Regions from separate parts of the Homo sapiens genome. Here region 2 is linked to region 1. The links are contacts of gene promoters, found by promoter capture Hi-C in human tissues and cell types (Jung and others, 2019). All regions are on one chromosome and are shown on one strand. The core of a region is centred on a gene start or on the middle of the fragment in contact, and the rest is flanking DNA. Distances in the headings are between cores, read along the strand shown. Region 1 holds the start of LGI2 (leucine rich repeat LGI family member 2). Region 2 has its middle 60 kb from the start of SOD3.

Evidence for each region. The method cuts DNA at HindIII sites, captures the fragments that hold promoters and counts their contacts. A contact is called where the count stands out against the background at its distance.
Region 2: a fragment that was not itself captured here is called in contact with the fragment with the promoter of LGI2 in region 1 in 2 of the 25 tissues and cell types used here (IMR-90 fibroblasts and thymus).

The regions. Positions count from the first base shown.
Region 1 is chr4:25,027,892-25,035,712 of GRCh38, forward strand. It overlaps LGI2 (leucine rich repeat LGI family member 2), which reads right to left and starts at 3,055. Exons shown (of 8, transcript NM_018176.4): 1 at 2,606-3,055; 2 at 616-687. The coding sequence starts at 2,802. It overlaps LOC124900684 (a long non-coding RNA gene), which reads left to right and starts at 2,217. Exons shown (of 2, transcript XR_007058083.1): 1 at 2,217-2,342. The HindIII fragment of the contact is 9,452 bases long and covers 1-7,821 here.
Region 2 is chr4:24,732,101-24,739,921 of GRCh38, forward strand. No RefSeq gene overlaps it. Among named protein-coding and RNA genes, the nearest start is that of SOD3, 60 kb to the right of the region's middle. The HindIII fragment of the contact is 7,905 bases long and covers 1-6,814 here.

The DNA.
Region 1 (7,821 bases), core at 1,805-4,304:
CTCACAGAGAGGAGATGGGATGAGGAATAGTTAGGAGTGTGGGCTTTTGGCCCTGGACTAGAATCTGGCTCTGATTTGGGACAAGTTAGTTAAGTTCCCTGAACCTCAGTTTCCTTATCTATCAAATGGGATCATAAGCATGCCTTCATCATACCGATGAAGTGATGATGAAATAAAATTACGCACGTAAGTTCATAGGATGCTGCCTGACTGGTTTAAGTTCTCAGCAAACTAGAAACACTCCTATTTCCAGAGTAACATTAAGATTTTAAAATGAAGTTTTCTTTTAAACTGAGGTGTTTGGGAAACAGTGCATTTAGGTGACTTTCAGGTCATGAGTCAATGCAATTACCTCCCCATTTACTAGATCTGGGTGTTGGGATCTACAATAAAGTCTCTGAAGAAAACAGGTATCGAACTAAGGAAAGAGCTGAGCAGGGAGCCTCAGTGCTTTGCTGGGGACATCACAGGGTAAATTAACACCAAGAGGCAGCCACGGTCTCCTCACGGAGCTGGGGTACTTTAGGAAGGGCTGATACCAAAGAGGCAGAGACGGCCCTCCAAGGATGGCACCTCAGGGCCCCCCATTGTGCAGAGGGAACTTCCCATACTCACAGCAGCTGCAGAGAAGGCAGATGGGAAAACATTCGGTCCTTGATTTCTGAAAACGTCCCATTTACCAGGCTCCTACGGGCAAAAGATGAACAAAAGTAGGCCTAGGTTTCTTTTAGGAAGTGCCATGCAGGGTGGGTAATCAAACTCTGCCTCCACCTGTACTTCAAACCCTGACTCTCAGGAGTGAGGCATAGCACAGTTGCCCAGGATCTTCCCCGGGGTAGGAATAAGAAGAGACAAGCCACTTCCCAATGAATCAGATCAATATGAAGACTAGTCTGAATAACAGAAACCTTTACCATCAGCTCCTTCCACAGACATTATCTCGGTCAGTTTAAATCAATCCCTTCACTTCCTTTTCTTAACTACAGGAGGTCCTTGCCTGAAAATGGATAATCGCTTCACCTCTGCCCATGATTCTGTTTGTGTAGACACAGCGTTGTGTTGGCCTATGAAATGCTGGGGTAGGATTAAGCATTCCTCTTGGGACCCCATCTCTGAAAGACAGAGCACTCCTGATTAAATGCAACATGAAAGCCCTGGGGAAAAACTCACAGACACCTGAACTCCCCTGTGTGGGGAGAGGCAGTACCATCTGCCAGATAAAACGGTCAACCAGGAGGCAAGATGCTTGGCTTTATTTCTGCCCCCAGGCCCCCATCCTTTCTGGCCACAGCAGGATCTGAATACATTATTTCAGAATTCCTTTCAGTTGGCATGCAGATCACTTAAGCAGCTGCTGGTCTGAAGGATTTAATAAGGGGAACTCTAATTTCTGGAATCCTCCATGTCACCCGACTTAGCAATATTAAGAATCAAAAAGGTCCTCTGTTCCCACCAGCCAAACTCTTCTGACTTTCTATAAATGCAAATGGGAACCCCCTCACTCCTGGGTCCAGGCCCCTACAATTTGCCTTGGGTGGGAGGCTGGGAAGCACTGGACACAAGAAAGTATCTTGAGCACAAGCAACGTCACCCCGGGGATTCCCTGCCTCCACCACTGACTGGGCACCCAGGCATCTTGGCCTGGAACAAGAGAGTGGTCTTAGCAGGAAACATGTCCTAGCAGTAAAGATACAGCCCAACAGCCCCTTCCACCGCCCTTGTGAGAGCTGGTCATTTGGCTTGAGTGGCCAGGTGAGGGCAGGATGAAAGCACCTCTCGGCAGGTGGATACCTAATGTGAAGCCCTTTCCTGTCAGTTCCTCCTGCTGAAAAAGCAGCCAACACAACTGTGTGATGGAGAAAGGGGGCAAGAAGCCCTCCTGACCTCAGGGCAAGAAGGCTGACTTCAAAGCACTTGGCCACTGGGCTAGGCGCCCAACATGCCCCAAACCTCTGCCCAGCCTTCTGTTACCCCTCTTCTAGGCCACGGGGGGCGGCCCCTCCCCTCCCAGAGCCTGCATGCCTTGACCTCGACTTTTTGCAACCTGCAATGTGGAGAAGTCGGGAGGAGGCCACGGGGTGAACATTCGCCCCAGACCTGATGTGGGGCAGTGAGGCCTCACCCTGCCCAGTTTGCACTCAGTCAGGTCGTGTTCAGCTGCTCCTATGCACGCCCCTACACACACAACTCCAACCCGCAAACACACACACACACACGCACACGCCCTCTCAAACTTTAATGCACCCTTGAGTCTCCCGGGGACGTCAAACGCACACTCCAGGACTCCACTCCAAAGACTGCTTCAGAGCAGCTGGATTCTGCATTGGCACAAGCTTCCCCAGGTGAGTCTGATGCAGGTGGCCCGTGGGCCACACTCTGAGAAACGCTGCCACAGGAACCTGTCTGGGTTCCCAGATTCTGGGGCTCAGGTCCTCACCGTCCTCCCCGGGGGCCAACACTCCACCCACGTCCCCCACACAAAGGCAAAGAAGGGGCCTGGGGAGTGGGTCAGGGTCGCGCTGGCCCGGCGCCAGAGGCAACTCCCTCGCGGCGGCGGACGCAGGGTGGGGCGGGACGGGATGGGGGCTGGAGGGGTCCCACTCACAGGGAGCTGATGTCGCCCGGCACGATCCTGGGCACCCAGGAAGAGCCCACGCAGATGATAGACTCCTTGGTACAGCTGCAAGTGGCGGGGCAGCGCGCCAGCCGCCTCACCTGCGCGCTCCGCGGTATCAGGCACGCGGCGCCCAGCAGCAGCAGCAGCAGCCCGAGCGCTCCGCAGCCGCCTCTCCGCAGCGCCATGCCCGGTCCCCGCTCCCCGCCCGGGCCCCGACCCCCACCGCCGCGCCGCGCGCTCGGACCCGGCGCCGCTGCAGACGCGGGCGCCGCTCGCTGCTCTGCCGCCGCCGCTGCTGGCGAGGACTAGGGAGCCGCGGGTGTGGGAGGCCGAGCCGCAGCCGAGCAGCATGCTGGCCGCCACCCCCACTCGGCGCCCCCCCACCCGAGCCCGGGCTGCTGGGCGGCCGCCGCCGCTGCGCCCGCCGCACTCGCGCCTGCCTGACATCAGCACTCGCGCCCGCAGCCCGGCTCTGGCCAATGAATAATGCATGGCGGGGCCCGCCCCGCGGGGGAGGGGGCCAGCGCCGGCCCCGTGGCGCCCCACCCGGCCCCCACCTCGCCACCCCCTCTCGCCCCGGGCCGGGCGCGGGGACAGAGGGAAAAGTTGGGTGACCTTGGGGGAGGGGCCAAGCCTGGCGGAGACCCCCGTCGGGGCCTGACTGAGCGGTGGAGGATCCGATGCCTGCAATACCTCCAGGGGTATAATCTGGGGAGGGCACTGGGTTCCTTTCAGGCAAATCAATAAAGTCGGAGCGGGGAGTGTGGAGAACCGGCTTGATTACTGGGGAGGGAGGCAGCCCTGGGTGCTTTGAAGAGGAGAGACTTTGGAGCAGCCTTTATTAATTTTGAAGTGCATGCTGCCGGTAGGGTCAGCGAGGATGGCTTTGCTTGTCTTCTGCGGTGGGGCAGTGAGGTCTGGCTCTCGCTCCCACAGCACCAGGGGTTACTGAAGCCAGCCAGTCCTCCCATGGGAGGAACGTGGGGAAGCAAAGCCGCTGCAGCCTGCACGCCCGGCGCTCTGGGCCCTGCCTGCTGCCTGCTAAAGAGCTGGAAAGCCCGGGAAAGTTTCCCCTCGCTCAGCTGCCCACGGGTCACCCCACCCGCCCCAGTCAGAGGAGGGTTTGTAGAGATTGAGGGTGTGATACATTCTAGCCACTGTACTTTTAATCTTCTAACCTTTTGAGGCAGGTCCTACTTATATCCTTAATTTATTGATGAGGCTGCTGACGCCCAGAAAGCATCCTGACTGGCTGATGGTCCAGCAGCTCCTGGCTGGGCAGGATGGGGCTCGGAGCCTTGAAGGGCTACCTTAACTGGGCCCTCCTGAGCCCCTCTTCAACTCCTTAAGTTTGAAGCAATGAGCGGAAATCTTAACACAGGTAATGTGCGGCTGAGGAAATCAAAGAAAATGACCAAAGCGGAAACAAAGTAATGGCTAATAACCTGAACTGCTGGGAGAAGGGAATCACAGCACGACTGTCGAGCTGCAAACCAAGGAAAAGCATGCCAGATGCTAAAACCTACTCAGAAAAGTCAGTATCGAATGCAAAAGTAGGAATCATACTATTGCTTCTTCAGCAATTATTGTTGGTGATCCATTGACAAGATCCATGAGGACGGTATCAGGCTGGCTGCTGTGGGAGGGAACAAAGGAACAGCTCCTGTCCTCAGGGAGCTAAAAGTCTAGCTGGACAGACAACCCTAAAAGAGCAACTCCACTGGCTACAAGGGGGTCACAGACTGACCAAAAGAGGTTCAGGAATTGAAAGAGAGCTTTGCGTAGGCAACTTCATGGAGGGAGTTAGACATTCCCTGCTGGTGACTATGTAAAAAGCACCTGGCATCAGTACAAACCAGCCTGCATTTATCATCATTTAATTCTTGCATCTGTCCTGAGAAATGGGTCCTCCCATTTTATGGATGGGAACATTGAGCTCAGAGAAGTTTTTATCTTGTCCAAGATCACACAGGACATGGCCAGGGAGATCATACTCCACAACTGGCTGCTGTGTCTAACCCTCGCTGCTGTGTGGGCATGCATTTACAAATACTTTACTCAGCAAGCCCCAGTGTTAGGGGCTGAGGACACAGACCACAGCCTGGGAGGGCGACAGACATGCAGACCCACAATCGTGGATGTGTGTGCTGTGCACCTGAAAGATGTTTCCCTTAAGAGGGATGGGCTACTGCTTTATAGAGCAGAGGAACGGAGGCTTCTCAAACAGAGCACTCCCTGCTGACCCAGGAAAAGAAAATCTATTTCTCACCTCTGAGTGAGAGCCTGGGGGCAGGGTGGCATAGCTAAATGCTGGCCTCAGGACTAGACAGGTTGGGGTTTGCATCCCAGCCTACCACTTACTGATGTGTAATTGTGTAATCCCAGCCTGCCACTTACTGCTGTGCAAGCTGTGATCTTTCTAAACCTCCATTTCTTCACCTGTAAACAAGAGGTTGTTGTAACCACATTTGGGGGTTAAATGAGATCAAGAAAGTAAAGCATTTAATACCACAAAGGAGGCACTGGGCGTTTGAGCAGAGTTCTATGTGACTAGATTGTAGGTAAGTGACGGAGAGAGGACTATGGAGGGAGATGGGTTTTCCTGACTTCTGTCCTTCCATTGTAATCAGAGTCACTGTCTTGTGTTGTGGTTCTCAATTGCGGGTAATTCAGGGGACACTTGGCCATGTGTGGAGATATTTGGGGTGGGTGCCCCTGGCGTCTAATGTGTAGAGGCTGGGGACGCTACTAAACATCTTGCAGTACTCAGCAAGAATGATCCAGGTCAAAATGTTGCTAGAGCCAAGGTTGAGAGAGCCTGGCTTAGTGTTCTGGAAAGACCCTTGGCATGAGGAATTCCAGAGATGCAGATTGTAAGTCAGGTTCATCAATCACAAGCAAACCTTCTTGGTCATGTTATTCCCATCTCTAGCTTCTATTTTTTCATCTATAAAATGGGGATAAAGAGCCCTTCTGCACCCTTTCCTAAATAAATGTGACATATCATCATTGTTCCTAACCTTAACTTCCAACAGCTAGAGCTAGCTCCAGCCCACCCTCTCCACCCCAAAAAACTAAAAAGTTCCTGATAGGAATGGTGCAGAAAGTAGGCCAGAGTAGCATAGCTGGCAGAGTTAGTATTTGTTTCGGCTCTGCTAGAGACACTAAGTAAGTGAGTGCTTGTAAATTATAAGGCGCAGTTTATAAATTAAAATATAAAAATGGAAATGCAGATTACTTTGGTGTGGTTCCAAGTTCCTCAGCAGTTTAAAAAAAAACTTAATAGACAATCAGAGAGACACAATCTGTTTCAGGAAATAGCAAGAGTTTTTGAAAAATCTTTGTAAAAATCCTTGTTGAGACGTAAACTTACTCAAGCTATGTCTTTATGACATGAATAACACACGTTCCTACAGTGGCTGAAATGGCGTAGGCTTGAGTGGCCTTCTCTAAAGTCTCAAACCGGTTCTACTTTATATGACTCCATGTGTTGGCAGCTCAAAATGGCATTCATTCATGTGTTCATGTACCCTCATGTTCAGCTACTTGTCAGTTAATTCTGTCAGTATTAACTGAGAACCTACTATGTGCTGGGCATCAATAATAAAACAATGACCAAGACAGACATGATCCCCACTTTCATTGCAGACAGATATTAAATTAAAAGAATGCATACATGAGTATGCAATTGCAAATTTTGATAGAGCCTATGAAGGAAGAGAATAGGGGAGACCTAATTTAGGTGTGTATTAGTCCATTTTCATGCTGCTGATAAAGACATACTGGAGACTGGTTAATTTATAAAGAAAAAGAGGTTTGATGGACTCATAGTTCCACATGGCCTCATGGGGAGGCTTCAAAATCATGGTGGAAGGTGAAAGGCATGTCTTACATGGTGGCAGACAAGAGAAAATGAGAGCCAAGCAAAAGGGGTTTCTCCTTACAAAATCATCAGATCTTGTGAGACTTATTCACTAACACGAGAACACTATGGGGGAAACCACCACGCTGCTGATTCAATAATCTCCCACCAGGTCCCTCCCACAACATGTGGGAATTATGGGAGCTACAATTAAAGATGAGATTTGGGTGGGGACACAGCCAAACCATATCAAGATGATGAAAGCCTGTCTGAGACCTTAGCTGAGTGCTTTGAGATGAGGAAGGGCAGGCAAGTGCAGGAGGGCTGCGGGCAGTAAGCAGAGGCTAAGGGAGGGGCGAAGCAGGCAGAAAGCATGGGATGTGTGAAGTCACCTGGACCAGAACATGCTGAGTGCATGTAAGGCTCTGAATGCAGGCCAGTGTGGCCACAGCATGGAGAATAAGGGAGAGGAAGAGATGAAATGAGGTCTGAAAGGTAGAAAGAAACTAAATCATGCAGGACCTTGTAGACCAAGGCAAAGGCAAAGAGCCTGCATGTTGTTCTAAATGCCAGAGGCCATTGAAAGACGTCAGTCAGAGAAGCAGCCTGCTATCCTTTCTACTTCACAGCAGTTATTTCTGACTGCTGAGTAGAGAATGAGAACTAGTTCCACTGAACTAGTCCTGGTGAGAGATGATGGCAACTGGGACTTGACTGGTGGCAGAGAAGAGTGGAGGTGGACTCAAGATGTATCTTTTTTTTTTTTTTGAGACGGAGTCTCGCTCTTTCACCCAGGCTGGACTGCAGTGGCGCTATCTCGGCTCACTGTAAGCTCCACCTCCCAGGTTCACGCCATTCTCCTGCCTCAGCCTCCCAAGTAGCTGGGACTACAGGCACCCGCCACCATGCCTGGCTAATTTTTTTTGTATTTTTAGTAGACACGGGGTTTCACCGTGTTAGCCAGGATGGTCTCGATCTCCTGACCTCGTGATCTGCCCGCCTTGGCCTCCCAAAGTGCTGGGATTACAGGTGTGAGCCACCGCACAGGAAGGATCAGCAAGACTAGCTGCTGGTTTAATTTAGGAGGGAGGTGGAAAGAAATGGTAAGAATGCCTCCCAGGTTTTGCCTGGAGCCAGTGGGTGGATGGAGGTGCCATTTCTTAAGATGAGAAAGCCTAGAAGAGGAAAGGGTTTGGCTGGAAGAGAAGTATTAAGAGATTGGTCTTGGGAATGTTGAGTTTTAAATGTCCATGAGGCATCCATGTGCAGATGTTGAGCTGTCAGCTAGAAGGCCAGTCAGGATGGGAAGGGGGAGATGGGTGGAGGTGGATGGGAAATCTTC
Region 2 (7,821 bases), core at 1,612-4,111, 300 kb before region 1:
GGAATAATTTCTCATGAAGGCTTGTTTCTCATCATTATCTCCATACAAATATTTCTTGTTACTTATTCTATGTTCTTCTCGCTCACATTTTCCCCTCTTCCTGAACTCAACTAAGTCTAAGGGCTCTTAGAAGCATCCCAAAGTGTTGCCAAGTGGCCTGGGGTTGCTCTCAGAGGTTCAGAGGTACAAATCCTACAGGCAGAAACACAGCTCTTTTGGCCCTTTCCTGCTTTCTCCCCTCCCCCAATATACCGTATTTCCCAGAAGTCTACTGCGTGCCAAGCCCAATCCTGGATGCTGGGGAGACATCTGCGGAGGACAAGACATGATAAGAAGCACACAGTCTAGTGGGGAAAAGTGGGCCCAGAAAGTAAAGGAGTCACGATAAAATAGGATCAATTATTTGCTAAGGGCATGCAAATTGTTCAGTGGGTCTGGAATGAGAATTTGAAAGAAAACTGTGAGACATGGTTGAAGTTGGAGAAGTACAGAAGGGGAAAGCTCCCTCGGGGCCTTATATCAATGCTAAGGGGTTTGCATTATTTCCTGAAAGGACTAGGGAGTCCTTGAGGATTCAAGACAGGGAGCAACCTCAGCCTGTCCTCACATCTGCAGGGCCTACAGCCTGCTGCCTGCTTCTTGTCTCTTCCCTCCCCAGATTCTCCCGACTTGGGCAGGTGTGTGTTTCCACCATCCTATGTCCAGTCTCCCTCCACATCCCACTCCCAGGGAAACTGCTACCCCTTGACCACACTTCAAGGCCTGGTAGTGTGGACACTAGCAGTGGCTCCACCTTCAGGGGAGGAGTCCTGTGCAGGCCCAGAATTGGCTCAGGGCTGGAATATCAGTAATGCAGGGTCCTGGGTGTCTGCATTCTAATCTGGAACCGTCTGCAGGTGGAGGACCAGATAGGGCTTTGTTGGGAACGTTCCTTTAGCCTGCAGACTCCTTGTTCCATAGGGAGGGGTGCAGCTGAGACCCAAGAGCTCTGAGAGCCAGAGCTGGGCCCTCTATAGTACAGAATCCAGGAATGAAGCCCAAGGCAAAAGATTGTGCCGCTTGCCTCATCAGATCCCTTGAGGCAGGGCCAGTTAAAAGGCGGCTAACGTATTTTATGGGATATCAATGGTGATCTGAAATGGGCAGGAAACAGCGTTGAAAGGAAGAAGACCAATTTGAGAACAATTCAGGGAAAGAAATGGACAGGTGCAGCCGGGCGCAGTGACTCATGCCTGTGGTCCCAGCACTTTGGGAGGCCGAGGTGGGTGGATCACGAGGTCAGGAGTTCAAGACGAGCCTGGCCAAGATGGTGAAATCCCGTCTCTACTAAAAATACAAAAAATTAGCCGGGCGTGGTCGTGGGCACCTGTAATCCCAGCTACTCTGGAGGCTGAGGCAGAGAATTGCTTGAAGCCAGGAGGTAGAGGTTGCAGTGAGCCGAGATTGTGCCACTGCACTCCAGCCTGGGCAACAGAGCTGGACTCTGCTTCAAAAAAAAAAAAAAAAAAAGAAAGAAATGAACAGGTGCAACCCTCCTGGCTGGTGCAGTGGTCTTGCCCCTGTCGTCTGACAACGTTCCATATTGTAGCTGAAGGGGCTGCTGTGTGCAGGCCCAGGGCAGCCTCCAAACACAGAGGATGACAAAGGGGAAATGCAGGGTTCTAACTAAAATGTGTACCTCTGTGTGGAAGTGAGCTCTGAAGGGTGAGTGTGAGTCAACCAGTGAAAGAGGGTGAGATGGCAGGTGAAGGAGAGAGGAGAGTGGCGGGGAAAAGCATTCCAAACAGAAGACTGTCAGGAGGTGAAGACACTGAAATGTCTGCAAATATTCTCTACGGCAGGGGTGAAAGAGGGAGGTGGCAAGTGGCAAAGGTAGGTTCGACCCAGACTGTCTGTGGCATTAGTGCACAGCTGTGTGCGTGTGTGTGTATGTGTGGTGTGTGCACATGTGCACACTTAGGTGGGGAGGAAAGGCACATAGGAGATACATCTCCAAGCAATGCATTTAAAAAGGTTGCACATCTCCCCAGCCAGTCAGAGGACTGTCGGCCTCAATGCTCACTTCCTCTCTTTTGCATGGATGTGTAAAAGTGCAGAAAGAATTCAATCTCAAAGAGATGAAGAGAACATCACAATAACAACAACACACGCATGCCCAAAGCAAAATGAGCAAGAGCTTCAAACAGCTCTTCATCCCACACAGATGAAAGTAATTCGATATTTGACACAACTAAGTATCTAAAATGCAGGCAAGAGTGACATGACTTAGATGCCAATCACGCTGCTTTTAACGAGTTCTTCCATTGTGTTTATGTCTGAGGCCACAGTAGCCCCAGAGGACTCCTGGGTCAGTTATCTATATTTGGAACATTGTGTGTACTCTCTTTGCACAAAGCAGGGCCCACTTCCAGGAAGATATTATGTTTTCCCCATCAATAAAGCTTGATTTTTATGGGTGTTTAAAACCATACTAGCAAAACCCATTGGTATTATGGGTAGGTGTTGAACCAGTTGCAGGATGCAAGTCAGCCATCTTCTATCATCCTCGTGAGCTCAAATGCCCTAAAATATTGCCCTTGAGGTTCTTCCCAGAGAGACCAGCCTTGCCAATTTTGCAGTATTGTTGAAATAAGAAAGAATTTCTGGAAGATTGCAAGGCATTTGGAAAGAACCATGCATTTTCTTGAGGGATGCTGGCTGAGTCTATTTTTAGGCTGCCTTATTGAAAGGCCACTTCTACTTCATCTCCTTACTACAAGTCCTCCTGTTTTCTCTTTTAGTATTCATGTGGTTTCTAATATGGGGTGGTGTAAAACTTAAAATTAAGGTCTAATATTATCTGTACCTTGACATCCGGTAATATTGGGAGGGTCTCAAATGCCTAATCACAAGTTCCCATTCCCACTCTAGAGTCCCACAGAGTCCCGTGGCCAAAGGACCCTTCTTGTTAAATGAGCCAGGTGTAGCTCTTGCTTATCCCTGAGTAGCCAGTTTCAGTTCTCTGCTAGTCTGCAGAATTATCTAAACAAGCCAATCTATCCTCTCGTGGGAACCAAGGAGGACCCCACCCTCTTGATACTACACAACCTGCCTTCCACAACCTCTTATGGTTCACTCTGCTCTCAATTGCACCCCCCCGTGTGGCCCTGCATGGTGCAGCAATTCTTCTCTTTGGGTGTGAGTATATGTCACTAGTAAACTGCTGCTGATCTCAGCTGTCCAGTGTTAGGCGTCTCATGTTCAGCTATTCCTATAGCCCTAGGGAGAGAATCTCCTTGTCATCAATGGGCTAAATAGAAGGTGGTTAAAATAATGGGAGGTAGACAAACCCTGGCTTCAAACCCCTGTCCTTCCCAGGTTTTAGCTGTGTGACCTGGGAAATTGTTTAACTTCTCTCAGCTTGAGTTCCCTCAACTGTAGAGCAGCATTTGCTTTATGAGTTTTTTGGGAAAATTAAATGGGATCATTTACTCAGTTAATCTTTTTTTGTTTGTTTGTTTGAGATGGAGTTTTGCTCTTGTTGCCCAGGCTGGAGTACAGTGGTGTGATCTCAGTTCATTGCAACCTCCGCCTCCTGGGTTCAAGAGATTCTCCTGCCTCAGCCTCCTGAGTAGCTGGGATTACAGGCACACACCACCATACCCAGCTAATTTTTGTATTTTTAGTAGAGATGGGGTTTCACTATGTTGGCTAGGCTGGTTTCGAACTCCTTACCTCAAGTGATCTGCCCACCTCAGCCTCCCAAAGTTCTAGGATTACAGGCATGAGCCACCAAGCCTGGCCTTACTCAGTAAATCTTTACTGAGGCCTTCCTAGGTGCCAGGAACAGGGACTGTAGCAAAAACTGCATGCTGGGTTTTTGTCCACAAAGAACTAATATTCTAATGGAGGGCATAAACAACACACATTTAAAAATTAACGAGAGGGTTACAAACAGGTGCAGTGCTATGAAGAAAAAAATGCATCAAATAACAAGAATGGAATTGCTCATGCTGGGTGGAGGATGGGGGGCAATTTTAGATACGGATAGCATGGAGGGCTCTCTGGATGGTAACGTTAGAGCTGAGACCTGAATGATGAAGAGTCAGCCATTAGAAGATTTTGGAAACAGCTATTGTAGGCTGAAGGAACAGCAAATGCAAATGCCTCCAGTAGGAGGCAGCAGGGCCTGTTGGAGCAAGGCGAGAGAAGTCAGCGTGACAAGTACACGTGAAGAGTGATATGGTTTGGCTCTGTGTCAAACCCAAATCTAATGTTGAATTGTAATCCCCAGTGTTGGGGGAGGGACCTTGTGGGAGGTGATTGGATCATGGGGCAGATTACCCTCTTGCTGTTCTTGAGATAGTGAGTTCTCATGAGATCTGGTTGTTTAAAAGTGTGTGGCGCCTGTAATCCCAGCACTTTGGGAGGCCCAAATGGGCAGATCACGAGGTCAGGAGATCGAGACCACCCTGGCTAACATGGTGAAACCCCGTCTCCACTAAAAATACAAAAAAATTAGCCAGACATGGTGGCAGACGCCTGTAGTCCCAGCTGCTCAGGAGGCTGCTGAGGCAGAAGAATGGTGTGAACCTAGGAGGCAGAGGTTGCAGTGCGCAGAGATAGCACCACTGCACTCCAACCTGGGTGACAGAGTGAGACTGCATCTCAAAAAAAAAAAAAGTGTGTGGCACTTCCCTCTTCACTTTCTCTTCCTCCTGCTCCAGCCATGTAGGACATGCTGGCTTCCCCTTCACCATCTTCCATGATTGTAAGTTTCCTGAGGCCTCCGTAGCCATGCCTTCTGTATGGCCTGTGGAACTGTGAGTCAATTAAACCTCTTTTATCTATACGTTACCCAGTTTCAGGTACTTCTTTATAGCAGTGCAAGAATGGACTAATACAGAAAATTGGTACCACAGAAGTGGGGTATTGCTATAAAGATATGTGAAAATGTGGAAGTGATGTTGGAACTGGGTAATGGGCAGAGGTTGGAATAGTTTGGAAGGCTCAAAAGAAGATAGGAAGATGAGGGAATGTTTTGAACTTCCTAGACTTGTTGAATGGTTGTGACCAAAATGCTGATGGTGATAAGGACAGGGAAGTCCAGGCTGAGGTGGTCTCAGGTGGAGACAAGAAACTTATCGAGAAGTGGAGTAAAGTTCACTCTTGCTATGCATTAGCAAAGAGACTGGCGGCATTGTGACCCTGCTCTAGAGGTCTGTGGAACTTTGAAGTTGAGGGAGATGATTTAGGGTATCTCGCAGAAAAAATTACTAAGCAGCAAAGCATTCAAGATGTGGTCTGGCTGCTTCTAAAAGCCTATGCTCATTTGCATAAACAAAGAAATGACCTGAAACCAGAACTTGTATTTAAAAAGGAAGCAGAACGTAAAAGTTTGGAAAATTCGCAGCCCAACCATGTGGTAGAAAAGAAAAACCCACTTTCTAGGGAGGAATTTAAGGCTGTAGAAATTTGCATAAGTAAAAAAGAGCTGAATGTTAATAGCCAAGAAAATGGGGAAAATGCCTCCAGGGCATTTCAGAGACCTTTGTGGCAGCCCCTCCTTTCACAGGCCTGGAGACCTAGGAGTAAAAAGTGGTTTAGTGGGCCAGGGCCAGGGACTCATGGCTCTGTATACTCTCAGGACATGGTGCTCTGCATCCCACCTGCTCCAGCTCCAGTCATGGCTGGAAGGGGCCAAGGTACAGCTTGGGCTGTTGTTTCAGAGGGCACAAGCCCCAAGGCTTGGTGGCTTCCATGTGGTGTTGGACCTGCAGGTGCACAGAAGGCAAGAGTTGAGATTTGAGAGCCTCCACCTAGATTTCGGAGGATATATGGAAATGCCTGGATGTCCAGGCAGAAGTCTGCTGTAGAGATAGAGCCCTCATGGAGAATCTCTACTCAGGCAGGCATAGGGGAAATGTGGGGTTGGAGCCCCTGCCCAGAGTCCTCACTAGGGTATTGCCTAGTGATGCTGTGAAAAGACGGCCACATTTTGAAATGTCAGAAGGACATGAGATTTGGGAGAGGCTGGGGTGGAATGACTGGAATGATACGGTTTGACTCTGTGCCCCTACCCAAATCACATGGTGAATTGTAATCCCCAGTGTTGAGGGAGGGACCTAGTGGAAGGTGATTGGATCATGGGGGTGGATTTCCCCCTTTCTATTCTCACAATAGTAAGTGAGTTCTCATGAGATCTCATTGTTTAAAAGTGTGTAGCGCTTCCCCCTTTGCTCTCTCTCTCCTGCTGCCATGTGAGGATGTCCTTGCTTCCCATTCACCCTTCTGCCATGATTGTAAGTTTCCTGAGGCCTCCCAGCCATGCTTCCTGTACAGCCTGTGGGACTGTGAGTCAATTAAATCTCTTTTCTTCATAAATTATCTAGTCTCGGGTTATTATTTATAGTAGTGTGAGTATGGACTAATACAAGGAGTATGGCTCATAGGGCCCAGTGTGTGCCTTCCTGAGGAAGCCATCCAAAGTCAAAGCCCTCCCACTGCAACTACTGCAGTGCATTGCTGGAAAATACAAGCTCTGTAATTCTGAAGCAGAAGGGATGCAAAGGGGTGAGCTGGAAGGAAGGCATGATGATTTCTTGGCTGAACCAGTGTCTAAACCAGTGAAAGGTCTGACTGGAGAGCATTTTTAAAGAAATGCTGCTTTTCCAGAGATTAGAACATAAAGACAGCTAGATCAAATTTTGGCAAACAGAGATCCTGTTGGGAACTGTTGCTGTGACTAATTAATAATCCCACTTGAAACTACTACCTCACCTGATGGAAATACCATGCTTCTTCTTCTTCTTTTTTTTTTTTGAGATGGAGTTTTGCTCTTGTTGCCCAGGCTGGAGTGAAGTGGCGCAATCTCAGCTCACTGCAACCTCCGCCTCCTGGGTTCAAGTGGTTCTCCTGCTTCAGCCTCCCAAGTAGATGGGATCAAAGGCATGTGCCACCATGCCTGGCTAATTTTGTATTTTTAATAGAGACAGGGTTTCTCCATGTTGGTTGGGCTGGTCTCGAATTCCTGACCTCAGGTGATCCACCTGCCTCAGCCTCCCAAAGTGCTGGGATTACAGGTGTGAGCCACTGTGCCTGGCCTGAAATGCCATGCCTCTAATAGTTATTTTTAAAGTTCTATAAGAGTTCAATTTCTTCAGTTGGGCATCATATCTCCCTGGATTTGCACCCAATCTCCATTACTTTCTAGGTACACAGAGCTTGAACCAAGTTCTTAAGAGTATAAGCCTCAGTTTTCTCCTCTATAAAATGGGGATGATGATGATGATGATTATATTAGCAGTACCTATCTTAGAGGGCTTTTGGAAAGATTAATTGAGACAATCCCTGAAAAACTCTAGCATACTACGTGTGACTCTGATAAGAGTCCCCAGTGTTAATAAATATTTTCTAAAATATTGTTTACTATTAATTACTTGTTTTTTCAATACCCCAATTAAAGTTACAAATGGCTTTGGTTTGACTTGATATTCTGAATTATTGTGCTGTTACTAAACGAGCATTTCCATTGTCCATCTGCTCAGTGTTCCTTGATGTTAAGTGGATTTATGCAGATTGTTTTGTGGATGCCATCTTTTAAACTTTCTTTACACTAAAACAATACAGCATTTGTTTTAAAATTAATACAGGTCTGCTGTAGAAATTGTAGAAAATACAGACACATATTCAGAAGATAATAAAAATCATTCATAATTTCACCCAGATCTGTCACTAATGTTTTTCCTTTTAGGCTTTTCTCTATGAATTTTAAAACATAGTTTATATTTTATATGTATTATTTTTATTCTCATGTAAAAGTTGACATATTATAAACATGTG